5 separate regions of the Homo sapiens genome follow, and regions 1, 2, 3 and 4 are each linked to region 5. The links are contacts of gene promoters, found by promoter capture Hi-C in human tissues and cell types (Jung and others, 2019). All regions are on one chromosome and are shown on one strand. The core of a region is centred on a gene start or on the middle of the fragment in contact, and the rest is flanking DNA. Distances in the headings are between cores, read along the strand shown. Region 1 has its middle 7.0 kb from the start of ZNF441. Region 2 holds the start of ZNF844 (zinc finger protein 844). Region 3 has its middle 12 kb from the start of ZNF20. Region 4 overlaps ZNF441 (zinc finger protein 441). Region 5 holds the start of ZNF700 (zinc finger protein 700).

Region 1 (4,204 bases), core at 615-3,114, 170 kb before region 5:
AAAGTGCTGGGATTACAGGCGTGAGCCACCGAGCCCGGCCTCAAGGGAGATTTTTGTTGTTCACAATACCACCTGGAATGTGGCTGAAAGTTTCTCCAAATTATCTACCTCCTTTACTTTTACAGAATCAGTCTACCATATGATATCTGTAAAAACAGAGAAGTACAATTACTACAGGTTTGTTTATAAGTGTTTTTTATATATATTAATAGGTCTTAAATTTACATTGTTGACATTATCATGCAAAGCTTAGGTGTCATGCCCTGTTTGAACATGAACGGACTGAATGCTGTGCAAGATAACTCAACTGTGGCTATCATCGGAACAGTAATATTCACGTGGGAATTCTTAGTACTGTTTTCCAAGGAAATTATTTTGCAGACACACTTAACAGCTATGTCCCATTTAAGTATGTTTTTGAAGAAAATTTTCTAAGAGTGAATAAATTTAAGCCAGGATTATTCTTTTTTATTTATTTATTTATTTATTTATTTTGCTTGTTTTAAAATTTTCCTGTCTTTTTTTTTAGACGGAGTCTTGCACTTTCGCCTGAGCTGGAGTGCAATGGCATGATCTCGACTGACTGCAACGTCCTCCTCCCGGGTACATGCGATTCTCCTGCCTCAGCCTCCTAAGTAGCTGGGACTACAGGTTCACACCACCACGCCTGGCTAATTTTTTGTATCTTTAGTAGAGACAGGGTTTCACTATGTTGGCCAGACTGGTCTCGAATTCCCGACCTCCTGAACTGCGCCCCACCCCCCCACCCTTTCAAAGTGCTGGAATTATAGGTGTGAAAAATTTCCTGTCACTTTAAGAATTATTCCAAAGACATATCTTTCTCTTCCTAGGGCAAATTACCTTAGATTTCTTCTGGGAATTTTGTACTAATCTTTAATGTTTTGGTCTTCCCATTTCATTCCTAAAATGTAGACCCAGAAGAATCACTATATATTATTATAAAATTACATTGAGGCCGGGGGCGGTGGTTCACGCATGTAATCCTAGCACTTTGGGAGGCCGAGGTGGGTGGATCGTCTGAGCTCAGGAGTTCGAGACAAGCTTGGGCAACACAGTGAAACCCCGTCTCTACTAAAAAATACAAAAAAATATTAGCCGGGCATGGCGGCGTGCGCCTGTAGTCCCAGCTACTCGGGAGGCTGAGGCAGGAGAATCAGTTGAACCCAGGAGGCAGAAGCTGCAGTGAGCCAAGATCGTGCCACTACACTCCAGCCTGGGTGACAGAGCAAGACTCCATCTCAAAAAAAAAATAATAATAAATAAAAATAAAATTATATTAAAAATGTAAGATTTTATGTAGACTGCAGTTATGGATGATTTATTCACCAAACCACAGTTGACTCTTCAACAACACAGGTTTGAACTGCATAGATCTCCTTACATACAAATTTTCTTCAGTTTCTGCTACTACTGAGACAGCAAGACCAACCCCTCCTCTTATTCAGCCTACTCAATGTGAAGACAATAAGGATGATAACATTTATGATGCTCCACTTCTACTTAATGAAATAGTAAATATAGTTTTTTCTCCTTGTGATTTTCTGATTAACATTTTTCTCTGCCTTAGTTTATTGTGAGAAAACAATATGTAATGCATATGACATATAAAATATGTGTTAATTGAATGTATATCTTACCAGTAAGGTTTCTGGTCAACAGTAGGCTATTAGTAGTCAAGTTGCGGGGGAGAAAAAAGTTATTTGAAGATTTGTGACTGCATTGAGGGCTGGTGCCCCTAATCCCTGCATTGTTCAAGGGTCAAACGTATTTCTTTTATATTCTAAATCTTTGAACAGCATTGGTGACGAAGAAACAAATATTCGTAATTGACTAAGTAAAGACATGATGTCCCCCTTACCTATACAGTCTAGGTTCCTGATGGTTTCCCGTAGCACATCTCTGTAGAGACTCTTCTATGATGGACCCAGCAAAGCCCACTCCTCCCAGGCAAAAGATCAAAGCCACATCCTCAAAGGCCACTGAGTCCTGAAACACCCGACACGTGCAGAGGAGGAAAGCTGAAACTGACAGCACTGGGAATCTGTACTCACTACATAAATGTCACATGATGCTGTGGTGTCCAAACATTTATGCAACGACACGGTAATCCAACTCTTACCCTCTTTCTAAACTCATTTTCTCCCAGAATGCAATTCTAATGCTAGAATTAAACGTGTTTGGTAAAATAACAGTCGAATTATAAAATGCCACTCCTTGGTGAGTTAAAGGAGTGACATTTATTGCCTAGATCACCCCTAATATCTATGTGTACAGGATGTTTGTAATTCCTGATGTGACAAAGTCCTCCTACCTAATGGGCAGAAGAGTTAACATCAGCTGTCCTGAGACCGCATATTGTTACAAATGCTTGCTCACAAAGTTGAACCTTTCACTATATCTAGGAACTAAATTTAGTTAGGGGGCTTCACCAACATAAGCGATAATGGAGGATGAGTGTCCCTAAACTATGTAAAAAATATGGTATCTGCTGAACTCCTATGTTCCCTCTGAGAGTTCAAACTTTTGTGATATGCTTGGCAGAGGGAGCATACCTGATCATTCACTACTAGGTTTTTTGCTTGTTTTTGTTTTTGTTTTTGTTTTTTTTGAGACAGAGTCTTGCTCTGTCTCCAGGCTGGAGTGCAGTGGCGCAATCTCGGCTCACTGCAACCTCCGCCTCCTGGGTTCAAGCGATTCTCCTGCCTCAGCCTCCCGAGTGGCTGGGATTACAGGCGCACACCACCATGCCCAGCTAATTTTTGTATTTTTAGTAGAGACAGGGTTTCACCATGTTGGCTAGGATGGTCTCGATCTCTTGACCTCGTGATCCACCCACCTCAGCCTCCCAAAGTGCTGGGATTACAGGAGTGAGCCACCGCGCCCGGCCATTCACTGCTAGGTTTGAATGTTTGTCCCCTCCAAAATGCTTGTTGAAACATAATCGCCAATGTGGCACTAATGAAAGGTGAGGCCTTTAAGAGGTGAGTAGATCTTAAGGGTTCAGACCTCATAAATAAATTAATCCATTCATGAATTCATGGCTTACTGAATTAATGAGTTATCTCAGGAGTGGGACTGATGGCCATATTAAAAAAGAAGGGAACCTGAGCTACCACATTCAGCCCATTCTCCATGTGATACCTTCAACCACCTAGAAACTCTGCACAGCCCCCATGACCAAGAAGGCTTTCACCACATGAAGCCCTCTTACTTGCTAGGTTCCAGAACTATAATAAATAATTTTTTTTGTTGTTTTTTGGCTTTTCTTTTTAGATGGACTCTTGCTTTGTTGCCCAGATGGGAGTGCAGTGGCACGATCTCGGCTCACTGCAACCTCTGCCTCCTCCTGGGTTCAAGCAATTCTCCTGTCTCAGCTTCCTTAGTAACTGGGACTACAGGTACATGCTACCACACTTGGATAATTTTTGTATTTTTAATAGAGACAGGGTTTCACTATGTTGGCCAGGCTGGAAGAAATATTGTTTTTTAAATAAATTACTCAGCTTCTACTATTCTGTTATAAGCAACAGAAAACATACTAGGATAAGCATGAAAAAACCACTCACCACTGGGTCTCTTATGAGCTTTTTTTGGTAGATAACATTTCCCACATTTTGTCACAACTTGTTACTTAAAGGATAAAGCCCATCCAATCTGAACACATTATAGGAGACTATTTGGAAGGTGGCATCTGCTTTCCTCTAGACCAAATTCAGTTAAGTATGACAAAAGACTAATGAAAGATGTCTCACTATCCCAATGGGAAACTTACGCTTTTTATTGGGTAATAACAAAGGATAATAAAGAAGGAAAAAGATTGCACATGTTCACTCCTGTAATCCCAACACTTTGGGAGGCTGAGGCGAGTGAATCACCTGAGGTTGGGAGTTCAAGACCAGCCTGAACAACATGGAGAAACCCCATATCTACTAAAAATACAAAAAATTAGCCGGGCATGGTGGTGCATGCCTGTAATCCCAGTTACTCGGGAGGCTGAGATAGGAGATTCGCTTGAAGAACCTGGGAGGCGGAGGTTGCGGTGAGCCGAGATCGCGCCATTACACGCCAGCCTGGGCAACAAGAGCGAAACTCCATCTCAAAAAAAAAAAAAAAAAAAAAAGGAAAGAACTCAATATCACCTCTCATAAATATCTATGCTAGTCCCTAAATCCCTAAAACAGTT
Region 2 (4,209 bases), core at 126-2,625, 140 kb after region 5:
TCCCACAGAGAGAATGGATGCAAAATGCTTCTTTTAAGAATTTCTGGCCGGGCACGGTTGCTCACGCCTGTAATCCCAGCACTTTGGGAGGCCGAGACGGGCGGATCACGAGGTCAGGAGATCGAGACCATCGTGGCTAACACGGTGAAACCCCGTCTCTACTAAAAGCACAAAAAATTAGCCAGGCATGGTGGCAGGCGCCTGTGGTCCCAGCTACTCGGGAGGCTGAGACAGGAGAATGGCGTGAACCCGGGAGGCGGAGCTTGCGGTGAGCCGAGATCGCGTCACTCACTCCAGCCTGGGCAACAGAGCAAGACACCATCTCAAAAAAAAAAAAAAAAAAAAGCAAAACCAGAATTTCTTACTTATTTTGTTTTTTGGTCTCACTCTGTTGCCCAGGCTGGAGTGTACTGGTGCAATCACAGCTCACTGCAGCCCTCGACTCCTGGGCCAAAGTGATTCTCCTGCCCTGGCCTCCTAAAGTGCTGGTATTACAGGCCCCAGCCACCTTGCCTGGCCTCTTTCCAGACTTTTTTTGTTTTTGTTTTTTTTGAGACGGAGTTTCATTCTTGTTGCCCAGGCTGGAGTCCAGTGGCATGATCTCGGCTCACTGCAACCTCCGCCTCCCAGCTTCAAGTGATTCTCCTGCCTCAGCCTCCCACATAGCTAGGATTACAGGCGTCCGCCACCACGACTGGCTAATATTTTGTATTTTAGTAGAGATGTGGTTTCACCATGTTGGCCAGGCTGGTCTCGAACTCCCGACCACAGGTGATATACCCGCCTCGGCCTCCCAAAGTGCTGAAATTACAGGCGTGAGCCGCCGCGCCCGGCTTTCCAGACTTTTAAAAGTGTCAGACTCTCAATTTCTCCCGGATCAGGGAAAGGGAAAAGGGGAGAGGGGGCATGGCTTCACTAATGGAAATACTCCATAGACGCAAATTTCACCCCCCAGAAGACAGTTGTGCAAGGGCAAAGCTGCAGCCATTCGAAATTGCCAAATAAATATATTTTGGAATAAAATATTTTAATTGCTTTCACCTCTATTAAACATAGAGTCTGGAACTCCCTGCACACACTTATGACACTGTGCAGGACGAAGAAGCAGGGACAGACCATTGACAGAGCCACTTCTAGTAATTAAGACGAGCAAGTTTGGCCGAAATGCAAATTTTCAAAGAGCAGGGCGTAGAGAGGGAACTTGACCTTGGACTGTGGCTTGAAGCGGTCAGTCCTGCTCTGCTTGGCCCTGTTACCCAGGACTTCTGCTGTCACTCAGGATGCAGGGGGCGGGGCCTGGCGCTCCACCCAATCAGAGTCGCCGGGGTGGGGCCCGGCCAACTGTTTATCCGCGGGTCACATTGCCGTTCGCCTCAGTCTTTGGCCCCTCCCGCCGGGTGAGGTTGGCACCCCGTTTTTCCTGCTCTGAGAGGGACCGGTTGCCACCGCCATACTTCTGTCGCCCTGTCGTCTGTGTTGTGACTGCTTTGGACGTGGGAGTCACCTGAAAGCCAGGAAATGGTGAGTGTGAGCCCCCGCTGGGAGTCCCGAGACTTGGGGGAGGGTAGGCGGAGGCTGGTTGGAACTGGCTGGAACCGGCTGTGCCGGGACCCGGACCTCCCCGCGGCGACTCGAGGTCTGGGGCCCGAGCCCCGCTGGCGCAGCTCGGCCTTCGGTCCATTCGGCCGCCGGGTGCGGCTGGGCCGGCAGCCGGGACCCCTGGGCGCCCTGTCTCGTCGCCGCGCGGCGACTGCGGCCCCAGCCCGGGAGCCCTCTCTGGACAGCTCCGCGCCCGCAGCCCGGAGCCTCTCCATATTGTGCGGGGCCACGGGAGGGTCATGGGGGCAATCCCGCCTTGGGTGTGGGGCTCGTGCGGGAGGAGCTGCGCTGTGAGGCCCTCAGTGCCCCCTTTCTCCTGTTAAAACTTAAACAGGCCCGGTGCTGGGAATAGAGGCGTGAGCCACCGCGCCTGGCCTAGCGTGGAGAACTTGTGACAGCGGATAAATGTTTTCCCTGCTGTCTGTGGCTTAGAGCTTGGCAACTGCTGTCGTGTTTTTGTTCACATCATGATCAATGTGTACTAGATGCTTTGTTGTTGTAATCGCCTGAGGGGTTCTTCCTGCCTGTGCTGCAAAAAGAAAGACCAGGGCATTGCAGTAAAGAAAATGTTTGACACGAGATGGACCACGCAACGCCGAAGACGGAGACAGAGTTAGCACTCAAATCAGTCTCCCCGAAGGCTTATAGTTAGGGATTTTTCTTTAATATTTTTTTCTTACAATTTTTTTTTTTTTTTTTAAGACAGAGTCTCGCTCTTTTTTGCCCAGGCTGGAGTGCAATGACACGATCTGGGCTCAGTGCAACCTCTGCCTCCCGGATTCAAGCGATTCTTCTGCTCAGCTTCCCTAGTAGCTGGGGTTACAGGCACGCCACCACGCCCTGCTGATTTCTGTATTTTCAGTAAAGACGGGGTTTCACCGTGTTGGCCAAGGTGGTCTTGAACTCCTGACCTCAGGTGATCCGCCCGCATCGGCCTCCTAAAGGGCTAGGATTACAGGCGTGAGCCACCTGGCCCGGCTAAAAATTGTTTTTTAAACAAGGTCTCACTCTGTCGCCCAGGTTGGAGTGCATGGCGCGATCACGGCTCACTGCATCCTGGACCCACCTGAGCAGCAGCTCAGGTGATTGTGCTGCCTCACCCTCCCGAGTAGCTGGGACTACAGGCGCAGGCGGCTAATTTTTGTATTTTTGGTAGAGATGGGGTTTCGCCATGTTGCCCAGGCTGGTCTTGAACTCCTGGGCTCAAGCGATCTGCTCACCTCGGCCCCCCAAAGTGCTGGGTTTACAGGTGTGAGCCACCGAACTCGGCCAGGGGTTTTTCAAAGGCAGAATCGGGGAAGAGGTGGTGGGAAATGGTCCTCCTGAGTGCTGAGTTGCTTATAGAGGAGCAGGGTTGGTGGGCCTGAGTGGAGCCATGGGTGTCAGACAAGCAAAAAACCTGAAAACACTTATCTGCAGAAGTATCTTGGGACCAGTCTATACCATAGCAAAATTCAGGCTCCTCATCGCTCCCCACTCTGTTCCCCCCGCCCCGACTCATGGTTTTTCATTAGCTTTAGGAAGGCAGTGTTTAAGGAAGAGCTATTATCATTTAAACTATAACATAAATGTCTTCTTTTTTTTTTTTTTTTTTTTTTTTGTTGTTGTTGTTGACGGAGGCTCCCTCTGTCGCCCAGACTGGAGTGCAGTGACGCGATCTCGGCTCACTGCAAGCTCTGCCTCCCGGGTTCACGCCATTCTCCTGCCTCAGCCTCCGGAGTAGCTGGGACTACAGGCGCCTGCCACCAAGCCCGGCTAATTTTTTGTGTTTTTAGTAGAGACGGGGTTTCAACGTGTTAGCCAGGATGGTCTGGATTTCCTGACCTCATGATCCGCCCACCTCGGCCTCCCAAAGTGCTGGGATTACAGGCGTGAGCCACCTCGCCCGGCCAAATGTCTTCTAAAGTTAGCTCAGCCTAAGCCTAGGAGTAATTAAGGCAGCTTGAAAGGTAAAGACAAGAGAAGCAGTTGGCTAGATCTCTTTGACTGCCATAATTTTTTCAGTGTTACAGTTTTTGCAAAAGTGGTTTCATTATCATGGAAATAGTAATAAAATAATATTGTCAACTTAAAAATAATGAGATTTCCATAAAAAATTAGCTGGGTGTGGTGGTACGCTCCTGTAGTCCCAGCTACTCCGGAGGCTGAGGCAGGAGAATCACTTGAACCCGGGAGGTGGAGTTTGCAGTGAGCTGAGATCGCGCCACTGCACTCCAGCTTGGGCTACAGAGTGAGACTCCCTCTCAAGTAAAATAATAATAATAATGAGATTTCCCTGGAGGCCAGTCAGTCAAGGCTGCACCGAACCGTGATCACACCACTGCACTCCAGTCTGGGTGACAGAGTGAGACCCTGTCTCAAAAATAAGAAAATTAGGCCGGGTGCAGTGGCTTACGCCTGTAATCCCAGCGCTTTGGGAGGCCGGGTCGGGCAATCACCTGAGAAGTTCGAGACCAGGCTGGCTAACATGGTGAAACCCCGTCTCTACTAAAAATATAAAAATTAGCCAGGTGTGATGGTGGTGCATCTATAATCCCAGCTACTGGGGAGGCTGAGGCAGGGGAATTGCTTGCACCTGGGAGGCGGAGGTTGCAGTGAGCTGAGACCACG
Region 3 (3,761 bases), core at 657-3,156, 200 kb after region 5:
TGAAACTGTTTCACCTCAGCTCATCAGGGATTAGTTTCTCATAAGGAGCATGCAACCTAGATCTCTCACATGTGCAGTTCACAATAGGGTTATCAACCCAAGAAAATCTAATACCACTGCTGCTCTGACAGGAGGCAGAGCTTAGGCAGTAACGCTCACTCGCTTCTGCTTACCTCCCGCTGTGTGGCCTAGTTCCTAACAGGCCATGGACAGGTACCCGTCTGTACCCGAGAGTTGGGGACACGTGAATTAGAGGACACTCAGGTGGTGTTCAGTGGAGAATGGATGGCTTGTTTGCTGTGTGAGAAAATCTTCCACATATTTGGTCATAGAGATATTGCATTGTGTGAATGCACAGGAAAAACATTTTGAGTTTTTCCACTCTTAGATCCCTGTGCAATTTTGAGAAATCCAGTCACAACAGTGTGTGGATGTTAATGCCGCCCTTACCACAAGAGGGAGCTTCATTGACGTTGCCTTTCTGGAAAATGGTTCAAAGGACTTTGTTGGAAATTCTACTCTACTCTACTCTACTGTATTTATGTTATGTTATGTTGTTATGTTATGTTATGTTATGTTATGTTATGTTATGTTATGTTATGTTATGTTATTTTAGAGACAAGGTCTTGCTCTGTTGCCCAGGCTGGAGTGCAGTGTTGCAGTCTCAGCTCACTGCAACCTCTGCCTCCCAGGTTCAAGTGATTCTCCTGCTTCAGCCTCCCGAGTAGCTGGGATTACAGGTGGCCACCACCCCAGCCGGCTAATTTTTGTACTTTTAGTAGAGACAGGGTTTCACTATGTTGGCCAGGCTGGTCTAGAACTCCTGACCTCAAGTGATCCGCCCGCCTTGGCCTCCCAAAGTGCTGGGATTATAGGCATAAGCCGCCGTGCCTGGCCCCTGAAATACTTTTTAATATAGGGTGTAAGCCAGGCGCGGTGGCTCACATCTGTAATACAAATACAAATACAAAAATTAACCAGGTGTGGTAGTGCGTGCCTGTAATCCCAGCTACTCGGGAGGCTGAGGCAGGAGAATTGCTTGAACCCAGCAGGTGAAGGTTGCAGTGAGCTGAGATCGCACCACTGCACTCAAGCCTGGCGACAGAGCGAGACTCTGTCTCAAAAAAAAAAAAAGTGTGTAACAGTTGGTGAAAAGGTTCAAAAAAAAAAAGAAAAGAAAAGAAAGGTGACACTTAAATTTACATGACTTTTTTTTTTTTTTTTTTGAGACAGCGTCTTGCTCTGTCACCCAGGCTGGAGTGCAGTGGCACAATCTTGGCTCAATGCAAGCTCTGCCTCCCAGGTTCATGCCATTCTCCTGCCTCAGCCTCCTGAGTAGCTGGGACTACGGGCGCCCGCCACCACGCCCGGCTAATTTTTTGTATTTTTAGTAGAGACAGGGTTTCACCATGTTAGCCAGGATGGTCTCGATCTCCTGACCTCGTGATCTGTCTACCTTGGCCTCCCAAAGTGCTGGGATAACAGGCGTGAGCCACCGCACCCAGCCTACATGACTTAACTTTTTACCTTGTTAAACAGAGAGCAATCAACCCTGTGAACGTTATGTTCCAGATTCTGACAAGTGTGTTGAAAAAATTCTACACACTAAATGAAATAGGAGTAATGGGTGAGAGAGTGTGACCTTGAGTTTCAAGTTGGGGTAAGGGGGGCGGAAAAGAAGACAGTGTCTTGAGGTGGTGACATCTGTAGTGAGATCTGAAATGACGTGTTAGTATATGAAGTCAGGAAAGAGGATTCTGGGAAGATGGCAGAATAGGAAGTATCAAGCAGAAACTACAGGAAGCCATTTTTGTGAACTGAGTTCCTCTGCTGGGCCCTCAGAAACCAGACCTACCCCAGCGATTAGGAAATTACACCTAGGCAATCGTCATTGCCCCACACGCTACAAAGAACGTTCAGTAGACAATGGCTTGAGAAATGCGCCCAGTCCAATCTTTGGGTAAGCCAGGTGCAGAGATGTACAAAAAGACTGTCCTTGGCAAAGTTCTATGGTCACATGATGTTTGAGGCAGTTCTGCATATCATATGAGGGCCTTATTGGAGTTCTTGTGTATCTCTGCCAAGAGAGTACTGCACAGCAGAGGTCATTATTGCAACTTCCGTGCCATTTATTTATTTTGAGACAGAGTCTTGCTCTTTTGCCAGGCTGAAGTGCAGTGGCACGATCTCAGCTCACTGCAGTCTCTGCCTCCCGGGTTCAAGGGATTCCTCTGCCTCAGCCTCCTGAGTAGCTGGGACTATAGGAGCCCGCCACCACGCCCGGCTAATTTTTTGTATTTTAGTAGAGACAGGTTTCACCATGTTGGCCAGAATGGTCTCAATCTCCTGACTTCATGATCCGCCCGCCTCGGCCTCCCAAAGTGCCGGGATTACAGGCATGAGCCACTGCACCCAGCCACTTCTGTGCCATTTAATTGTTCACCAGTTGCCACAGGTCTATCTGTGTACACCTGAGTTGCTTGAGTGGTTCTAAACAAATGAATTTAACTTTCATTGTGGTGTTGAATTTTTGTATATACCTTTTATGAATTATTTTGACCGTGGGCTGACCAATATCATGAGTAAAAGATTTAAAAGGTCTAGAGGAGCCAGGCATGTTGGCTCATGCCTATAATCCCAGCACTTTGGGAGGCCGAGGCAGATGGATCGCTTGAGGCCAGGAGTTTAGAGACCAGTCTGGCCAACATGGTGAAACTCCAATTCTACAAAAAACACAAAAATTAACTGGGCATGGTGGTGTTCGCCTGTAGTGCCAGCTACTTGGGAGGTTGTGACGAGACTTGCTTGAACCTGGGAAGCAGAGGTTGCAGTGAGCTGAGATCGTGCCACTGCAATTCAGCCTAGGCAACAGAGCGACACTCTGTCTCAAAAAAAAAAAAAAAAAAGCCATAGGTAGGAAGCAAAATGTAAATAATGAGAAAAATATATATCTTAAGTTCACATTTGAAATATGTAAGAAAATTTGGTGATGCTGCAAATAAACTGAGGATTGTAATTATATAAATTACAAGTTTTTCCTGAGAAAAAACACATTTTCAACCTAAGTACATTGATCTTAAAGGATTTTTCCTTTGCTTTTTGACCTTGCTTTGTGAAAAAGTGCAAAAATAAGACATGAATAGTCAAAATAAGAATTTTTGGGCCAGGCGTGGTGGCTCACACTTATAATCCCAGCACTTTGGGAGGCCGAGGTGGGCGGATCACGAGGCCAGGAGATCGAGACCATCCTGGCTAACATGGTGAAACCCTGTCTCTACTAAAAAAAAAAATACAAAAAAATAGCCAGGCGTGGTGGCGGGCACCTGTAGTCCCAGCTACTCGGGAAGCTGAGGCAGGAGAATGGCGTGAACCAGGGAGGCGGAGGCTTGCAGTGAGCCGAGATCGCGCCACTGCCCTCCAGCCTGGGCAACAGAGCAAGACTCCATCTCAAAAAAAAAAAAAGGAATTTTTGGCCAGGCATGGTGGCTCACACCTGTAATCCTGGCACTTTGGGAGGCCGAGGCAGGTGGATCACATGAGGTCAGGAGTTTGAGACCAGCCTGGCCAACATGGTGAAACCCTGTCTACTAAAAATACAAAAAAATAGCCAGGCATGGTGGCAGGTGCCTGTAATTCCAGCTACTTGGGAGGCTGAGGCAGGAGAATCACTTGACCCCAGGAGGCAGAGGTTGCGGTGAGCCAAGATTGCACCACTGTCCTCCAGACTCTGTCTCCAAAAAAAAAAAATTCATATCTCACAA
Region 4 (3,961 bases), core at 252-2,751, 140 kb before region 5:
GTTATCCGGGGCTGAGAAGGGGAAATGAAGAGAAATTGGTGAATATGTACAAATTTCCATTTAGATCAAAGGAATAAGTTCTGATGTTAGAAAGCATACTAGAGTGAACTATAGTTAGCAAAAATATATTGCATATTTCAAAGTAGTTGGAAGAGAGGACTTGAAATGTTACCAACACATAGAAGTGGTAAATACTCAAGATCATGGATACCCCAAATACGCTGACTTGACCATTACACATTCTATGCATGCAAGAAATGCTCATGTGTACCTTATATATATGTAAAATATGTATCAATAAAAGAAAATATATAAGATAGTTTTAAAATAACACTATTGTCAGGTGTCTGTGGGCTGAGGAACAGCCTAAGGTGTAAACTTAAGTTCTTCTCAGGTCTTTTCTTAGTTGCACCTGTCCCTGGGCATGTGTGGTAACTGTCTAATTTTCTCTGCATGTATGGTTATTTTTGCACAACCTAATCTTCAGTGGCTCTCAAAAGGAGAGGAATAAAAGCATTAAGGGAAAAATAAAAGGCACCAGCCTGGAAGTCACTTCAGATGGAGGGGAAGGGCCTTCAAAAAATGGAGAGAGATGCAGCAGCAACAGTCACCACCACTTCTTTGTCTGTAACTCTGTGATCAGAAGCAACAATTATCAAGCAGTGCGCAGATCCCCAATATTTGGAAGACAGGTCCTTTTTGTCCACCCTGGCCCCCCAAAACTGCATGCAGACTGCTGTTAGAACTTATGCATAGCTACCTGTCATGGAGCTGAGGAGGGGGAATGAGTCAGGGCTGCTGACTCAACTAAGAGTTGAAATTGACCGAAATTAACCCAATTTTATTAGCCAATTATTTCCCTGGAAGCTGCAAGCTTTTAATAGTATCCGCAGTTTCAAAATAGCTACATGAGTTGGATTCTGCCAATGCAAATCCAGGTGGGGGATACAGATTCTTCATGCTTTTTATTCTGCCATCTTCCTTGAATCCTCTGACCTGACTTTTTATACTAATACATTACTTCAGGTCCCATCCCACATGTCACCTCCTCAGCAAGTCTTTCTGTCACCTCAGTTACTCCTTTCCATATATACATTTTTTTTAATACACTTTTCAGAGTCAGGGAAATCCGATTAGGTTCACAGACTTTACTGCTTTCTTAACAACCTATGAAAAGTCAAATCATATAAATGAACCAAACTGAATAGTGTCACTGTTACTTTTATGAAGTGTTATCCCGTAGATTTAAAAAAAAAGAAAGAAAGCCGGGCGCGGTGGCTCACGCCTGTAATCCCAGCACTTTGGGAGGACGAGGAGGGTGGATCACCTGAGGTCAGAAGTTCAAGACCAGCCTGGTCAACATGGTGAAATCCCGTCTCTACTAAATATACAAAAATTAGCCGGGCGTGGTGGCAGGCGCCTGTAATCCCAGCTACTCGGGAGGCTGAGGCAGGAGAATCGCTTGAACCCGGGAGGCAGCGGTTGCAGTGAGCCGAGATCGCACCATTGCGCTCCAGCCTGGGCAACAAGAGCGAAACTTCGTCTCAAAAGAAAAAAAAAACTGCTTTGCACCGATTTGCAGAAAAAGAGACAACGAACTCCCTCTCGTGGTGAGGATGGCATTAACATCCACACATAACTCCTTTAGGGTGTGGATTTCTGAATTGTGCTGAGATCTCCAGAATTTACAGCAAGTGATGGTCAGTTTAAAATATTCTGTGCCTTCAATGAAGAAGTAGTGTAGCAGGTTAGGGAGAAGAGAAGCAAATAAAATGGATGAGGTCCTCACTTAGTATATCACAATCTCTCCTGGAAGACTATTTATTTATTTATTTTTTTGAGACGGAGTCTCGCTTTGTCACCCAGGCTGGAGTGCAGTGGCGTGATCTCGGGTCACTGCAAGCTCCGCCTCCCGGGTTCACACCATTCTCCTGCCTCAGCCTCCCGAGTAGCTGGGACTACAGGCGCCCGCCACCACGCCCAGCTAATTTTTTGTATTTTTAGTAGAGACGGGGTTTCACCGTGTTAGCCAGGATGGTCTCGATCTCCTGACCTCGTGATCCACCCGCCTCGGCCTCCCAAAGTGCTTGGATTACAGGCATGAGCCACCGCGCCCGGCTCTGGAAGACAATTTCAAATGAATAAATCAAGGAACATGAGAGAGCCACAAGGGAGTTCAACCTGAGTCCAGTTAGACTCCTTGAAAGGGAAAGCTATTTACAGAATACTTCGGATTTAGCTGCGGAAATGATTTGATGGGTCAGTGGTGGTGGAGTGAGGTTGAGACCATTTAAAATAGGTGACGTAAACATGTGAAACCTCAGACACAGAGCCCTTGGTGTTAACCATGATCTGTTGAAAGTCAGAAGAATGAAGCAGAGGGAATTGTTGGAAGCTCACATTTGATTAGCTTTTTTACATATAACATGTGTTGACAAGGCCGGGAGCGGTGGCTCACGCCTGTAATCCCAGCACTTTGGGAGGACGAGGAGGGTGGATCACCTGAGGTCAGGAGATCGAGACCATCCTGGCTAACACGGCGAGACCTCGTCTCTACTAAAAATACAAAAAATTAGCTGGGCGTGTTGGCGGGCGCCTGTAGTCCCAGCTACTCGGGAGGCTGAGGCAGGAGAATGGTATGAACCCAGGAGGTGGAGCCTGCAGTGAGCCGAGATGGCGCCACTGCACTCCAGCCTGGACAACAGTGCGAGACTCCATCTCGACAACAACAACAACAAAAAACAATGTGTTGACGTAGAAATTATTTATTGATGTATTTTTCTCAAACTAATAATTATTTTGAAGGGTTTTTTTTCCACCATGTAAACATAACCAACTCCCAGGAGCTTCCATGTGTATATGCTTAAATGTATAATATGTGTAAAAGTTCTATCAGACTTAAATCATCCATTTATCACACTTTAAACACCTATGAATGACCAGCCTGGGCAACATACCAAGACCTAATTTCTACCAAAAAAATTTTCTTTCTAATGATCCAGGCATAGTGACATGTACCTGTAGTCCTAGCTACTCCAGAGGATGAGGTGGGAGGATTGCTTGAGCCTAGGAGGTTGAGGCTGCAATGATCCGTGATGGCATCACTGCACTCCAGCCTGGGTGACACAGTGAGACCCTGTCTCAAATAGAAGAAAATGTCAAATAAGATGAATGTGATTGCTTAAACTCTTCCACACAGAAGAATTTATCAAGATGGTCTTCAGAGGTATATCATGAGGAAGCAGTACAGTGCAATGAGGAAAAAACAACAAAAAACAAGTGAAGGGGGCAGAAGACCTCAATTCTACTCTTTACTCTCTCTAGATGTGAAACAACCTTGGGCAAGTCACTGCGCCTCTTTGAGCCTGTTATTTCATCTGTAAGAAGCTGAGATAATTAATATATCATAGATAATGTAGTGTTCTCAGTAGAAACTGAAACAGCACTCTGAGATCAAACTCATTAATATTCCTACAACAAAATGAGTAAATACTTGAAACAGAACAAAACAGCCAATAAATAGCCTCTTATTTCTTGATGTCAGGTTCATGCCTACCTTACAAAATAGAGTTGTCAGAGCTTTTTGGTTCGTAGAACTGAAGAAAAGGGACTGTAGACTCATGGAAGTGTCTAATGTCAGAAAGCCAGATATGTCAAAGATGAATTTCTGAAATTAAAACATTTTATTTGGGAAGAAATACTTGTAATTCAGGGCATACACACAGACCAAGTGGTCTTTGGTATGTCTTAAAAACAGAGAACATTGGAGGTTTCATGAAAAGGAGAAGTGTTACATATGGTTCTTCAAGAAAGTTCATTGGCACTAGTAAGGTTTTTGGGAGTTGGAAAGTTCTGATCGGGAAATGATGGCAATGAGTAAAACTATTCTTAGAGCCACAGCAAGTTGTTTCAGTAACTATTAGATAAAACCGGTTTCAGGATACAACTGGCTGTTTCAGCA
Region 5 (4,077 bases), core at 118-2,617:
CTTATTTACACAATGGGATTGAAGGTGTTTGTCTCGCGAAACTAATCGATGGGGTGAGAAGTAGCTGAATAACCTGCAGGGGGCAGCAGAGCCCAAGGCCAGTGATTCCACGTTGAGGACAGTCTCTGCAGCCTGCAAAGGGAGGGAAAGAGAGTTTCCCTGGGGGCTTCGCGGGCAGCCCACCCCCTTCTACAAGTGGCCTCCAGCTGCTCAGAGCAGCTCCAGAAAGGGTGTGGATTCCGAGAAGCTGCAGAGCCCTGGAAAGCAGAAGACCCATGTGCAGACGCATTTGTGGCGTCTCTGTCCTTTCTGGTGTTGTACCTCTGGAGCTGTCTTCTGGGCAGGGTTTGGGGTTTGACATGCATGGGGTCGTTGGGGTCAGAGTTATTTGTATAGATAAAGAAAATGTGTGGCCGGGCGCGGTGGCTCACGCCTGTAATCCCAGCACTTTGCGGGGCCGAGGCGGGCGGATCAAGAGGTCAGAAGATCGAGACCATCCTGGCTAACACGGTGAAACCCCGTCTCCACTGAAAATACAAAATATTAGCCGGGCGTGGTGGCGGGCGCCTTTAATCCCAGCTACTCCGGAGGCCGAGGTAAGAGAATGGCGTGAACTCGGGAGGCGGAGCTTGCAGTGAGTCGAGATCGCACCACTGCACTCCAGCCTGGGCTACAGAGCAAGACTCCGTCTCAAAAAAAAAAAAAAAAAAAGAAAGAAAGAAAAGAAAATGTGTGAAGATCAGGCTAGAGCTAGAGACAGAATTGTTTGGTGGCGTCACCTGGATAAAGGGTTCATGAAGTTGACAGTTTACTTAGGTCAGAAACAAAACCTGGTGAGAGTTTCCTGCTGGTGAAAATGAAGATCTGAAAGGAGGAAGCATTTTCACAAGGGGATGGGGGTGTGTGAGCAAGGCTTGGCCACGCCTCATCCCCAATTCCGGCCCGCTCGAGGACATATGCCTCTCCTCCTGGTGCAGTCGTGCCTGGCCTGGTCTCGGTTCCCCTGCTGCTCTGAGGCCAGCAGTTGGCTCCTATGGACACTGAGTCTGAAATTCCCTGCACACTCCTGTGACCCCGTGCAGAACGAAGGAGCGGGGACTGTCCCTTGAGTGAGGATGACGCTAGTGTTCTCTTCTATCAATAGCAAGTTTGGCTGAAATGCAAATATCCAATAACCAGAGTGCAGAAAGCAGCTCGCCCTTAGAGAAGCTGTGGCTAGAATCCGTCAGTCTGGCTCTGCGGGGCCTGATACCCAGGGCTTCAGCTGTCACTCAGATGTGGGGGGCGGGACCTAGTATTTCATCCAATCAGAGGTGCTGGGGCGTGGCACTGCCCACAGTTCATCCGGAAATGGAGGGGGTCGCTTTCCTCACCTTCCTCGCTGCGCGGGCGGCGGTTGGTAACCGGTCAGACCAGCCCGAGAGGGACCTGGTGCCTGTACCCAGGCTTCTGTCGCTCTGTCGCCTGCGCTATGCCCTGCTGTAGTCACAGGAGCTGTAGAGAGGACCCCGGTACATCTGAAAGCCGGGAAATGGTGCGTGTGCGGGACCAGATGTCGTGAGACGGGGGAGGGGCTGCCTGGAACAGGCGGGAACCGGCTGTGGCGGGACCCGGGCCTCCCTGTGGGCGACTCCGGGGTCTGGGACCGAGTCCTCCTTGAGCAGTTCGGCCCTCGGTCCCCTTGGCCGCTGGACGGGGCTGGGCCAGCAGCCAGGACCCGGGCGTCCTGTCCCGTCCCTGCGCGGCGACTGCGGCCGCGGCCCCTGCCCCGGAGCCCTCTCTGGGCAGTTCCGCTCCCGCAGCCCCGCGTCTCCCCAGATTGTGCGGAAGCAACGGGAGGGTCATGGAGGCATCCTGACTCGGGTGTGGGGTTCGTGCGTGGGAGGAGCAGTGGTCTGTGGGGCCCCCAGTCCCCACTTTCTCCTGTTAAAAATTAAACTGAGGTACGTTAACAATTAAAGAGTTCATTTGAGCAAACAGCGATTCACGAATGAGAAACACCCCGTCCTGGGTTGTGGTTTGTCAACGGAAAAAGCCAAACTATGTAAAATAAAGAAGTTTATTCAGAGCCGAATAGGAGAGACCTTGGCCGAGGGAAACACAACCCCAAGCAGCCTGGAGTAAGTGGTCCCGAGGCGGCTCAAGACAGTTTGGTTTTATTCATTTCAGAGAGACAGGAATTGCAGGGAAAATGATGAATCAGTGCCTGAAAGGTGTAAGTTCCATTGGCAGAAAGGGTGGGACCTGTGGAAGGGGGGTTAGAAGGCACAGGTGGTTGAGGGATTCTGTAGGTGGCAGCTGGTTGAGAGTGTGAAGTTTGTCTAAAGTTTGGAGGAGGTAGGAAGGAAGGGGGTCTGTTATCTGCCACTTGATTCCATCCCAGCCAGAAAACAGACCTGTTTCTCTAGATTTTATGAATTCTGAGGCGTGACTTTACTTTTGCCTTGCGTGGCCTTAGGTTTTGTTTGTAAGTTAGTATCTTCTTGCCACAAGCAGTCTGTTTTTCCATTCTATCTATTTTTACATGAATGTGTGGGAGAGGGTATAAGGAGACCTGTCTCACCTCCCATCCTGTCATACAGAGGCACTCAATTTTCAGGGTTTTTTGCGGGTCCTGTTGGCCAAGAGCCGGTCACTTCACTTAGCTGGAAAGGTACTTTGTTTTTATTTGAGACGGAGTCTCCTGTCGCCCAGACTGGAGTGCAATGGCCTGATCTCGGCTCACTGCAACCTCCACCTTCCGGGTTCAAGTGATTCTCCTGCCTCAGCCTCCTGAGTAGCTGGGATTGCAGGCATGCACCACTATGCCCTCCTAATTTTTGTATTTTTAGTAGAGATGGGGTTTCACCATGTTGGCCAGGCTGGTCTCGAACTCCTGACCTCAAGTGATCCACCCACCTCAGCCTCCCAAAGTGCTGGGATTACAGATGTGAGCCATCTCGCCGGGCCAGAGGTATGTTTTTATTTTTAGTTTACCAGTTTAGGGGTAAGCTTTTATAAGTTACGTGAGGAGACAAACCAGATAAATGCTTGATTGGTTGCAGAGATGCAGTTGCCTTATTTGGACTTGTCACTCCGAAATAATAGAAAGGTCAAGATTTCAGTTGGAAGAGTTTATTCAAGCGGAAGGATAGCAGTGGCCCATTTGGGAAAAACACAGACTCTAGGGAAATAGACTCAGTACTCCAAAACTGGAAGTTAAGTTCTTGCTTGTATTACCAGGAAAAGAGGTCCTGATCAGACCCCAGGAGAGTTCTTGAATCTCACACAGGAAGGAATTCAAGACGAGTCACAAAGTGCAGTGAGAAGAGAGTTTATTGAAAGCTACTCTGGGCCAGCATGATGGCTTAGGCCTGTAATCCAAGCACTTTGGGAGGCCAAGGTGGGAGGATAACTTGAGGTCAGGAGTTCGAGACCAGCCTGGGCAACATAGTGAAACCCCATCTCTTCCAAAACTAGCAAAAATTAGCCGGGTGTGGTGGCCTGCACCTGTAGTCCCAGGTGTTCAGGAGGCTGATGTGAGAGAATCACTTGAACCCCAGAGGCAGAGGTTGCAGCCCAGCCGAGGATGTACCACTGCACTCCAGTGTGGGTAACAGAGTGAGACCCCATCTCAAAAACCAAAACAAACAGGAAAGAGGTCAAGACCAACCTGGCCAACACAGCGAGACCCTGTCTCTATTTAAATAAATAAATAAATAAATAAATAAATAAATAAATAAATAGAAAAGGAAAAAGAAAGAAAAAGCTTCTCTGTTTCAGAGTAGGGCATCCTCATACAGCAAGTGGAGGAACGTACTGTCTTTAAGTTTTTCTTATGTAGGGATCTTTTCTATGTAAAGAATAAACTACCTGTGCCTATGTGCATGTGGGCTGACAGCATCACAAAATTTATTACTCTGTTGATTTAAAGAAAACTATCCTTTACATTTTAGCACCCAAGTGCATTAAAACATAACTATAATTATCTTGAAAGCACATATTGTTATAGGTATTGGGACATCAGGACATTCTATTGTTGTGGGAGTGTAAGGATACTTGCAGGCATCTTCAGGCTGTTTTCTTCATGGGAAACAT

The links. Contacts are between HindIII fragments. The study calls those that stand out against the background at their distance.
Region 1: a fragment that was not itself captured here is called in contact with the fragment with the promoter of ZNF700 in region 5 in 4 of the 25 tissues and cell types used here (bladder, dorsolateral prefrontal cortex, heart right ventricle and 1 more).
Region 2: a contact is called between the fragment with the promoter of ZNF844 here and the fragment with the promoter of ZNF700 in region 5, in 2 of the 25 tissues and cell types used here (adrenal gland and small bowel).
Region 3: a fragment that was not itself captured here is called in contact with the fragment with the promoter of ZNF700 in region 5 in 14 of the 25 tissues and cell types used here (H1 embryonic stem cells, IMR-90 fibroblasts, adrenal gland and 11 more).
Region 4: a contact is called between a fragment that was not itself captured here and the fragment with the promoter of ZNF700 in region 5, in 2 of the 25 tissues and cell types used here (bladder and mesenchymal stem cells).

What each region holds. Positions count from the first base shown.
Region 1 is chr19:11,757,927-11,762,130 of GRCh38, forward strand. No RefSeq gene overlaps it. Among named protein-coding and RNA genes, the nearest start is that of ZNF441, 7.0 kb to the right of the region's middle. The HindIII fragment of the contact is 5,499 bases long and covers 1-4,204 here.
Region 2 is chr19:12,063,356-12,067,564 of GRCh38, forward strand. It overlaps ZNF844 (zinc finger protein 844), which reads left to right and starts at 1,376. Exons shown (of 4, transcript NM_001136501.3): 1 at 1,376-1,521. The coding sequence starts at 1,519. RefSeq lists an enhancer at 1,461-1,550 and a silencer at 1,641-1,820. The HindIII fragment of the contact is 18,413 bases long and covers 1-4,209 here.
Region 3 is chr19:12,126,458-12,130,218 of GRCh38, forward strand. No RefSeq gene overlaps it. Among named protein-coding and RNA genes, the nearest start is that of ZNF20, 12 kb to the right of the region's middle. The HindIII fragment of the contact is 9,523 bases long and covers 1-3,761 here.
Region 4 is chr19:11,783,748-11,787,708 of GRCh38, forward strand. ZNF441 (zinc finger protein 441) reads left to right here. Exons shown (of 4, transcript NM_152355.3): 4 at 1-331. Among named protein-coding and RNA genes, the nearest start is that of ZNF491, 13 kb to the right of the region's middle. The HindIII fragment of the contact is 7,851 bases long and covers 1-3,961 here.
Region 5 is chr19:11,923,740-11,927,816 of GRCh38, forward strand. It overlaps ZNF700 (zinc finger protein 700), which reads left to right and starts at 1,368. Exons shown (of 4, transcript NM_144566.3): 1 at 1,368-1,534. The coding sequence starts at 1,472. It also overlaps a transcript of ZNF69 not described here. RefSeq lists enhancers at 1-64, 65-854, 1,011-1,583, 1,031-1,080, 1,131-1,240 and a silencer at 1,631-1,830. The HindIII fragment of the contact is 4,963 bases long and covers 1-3,369 here.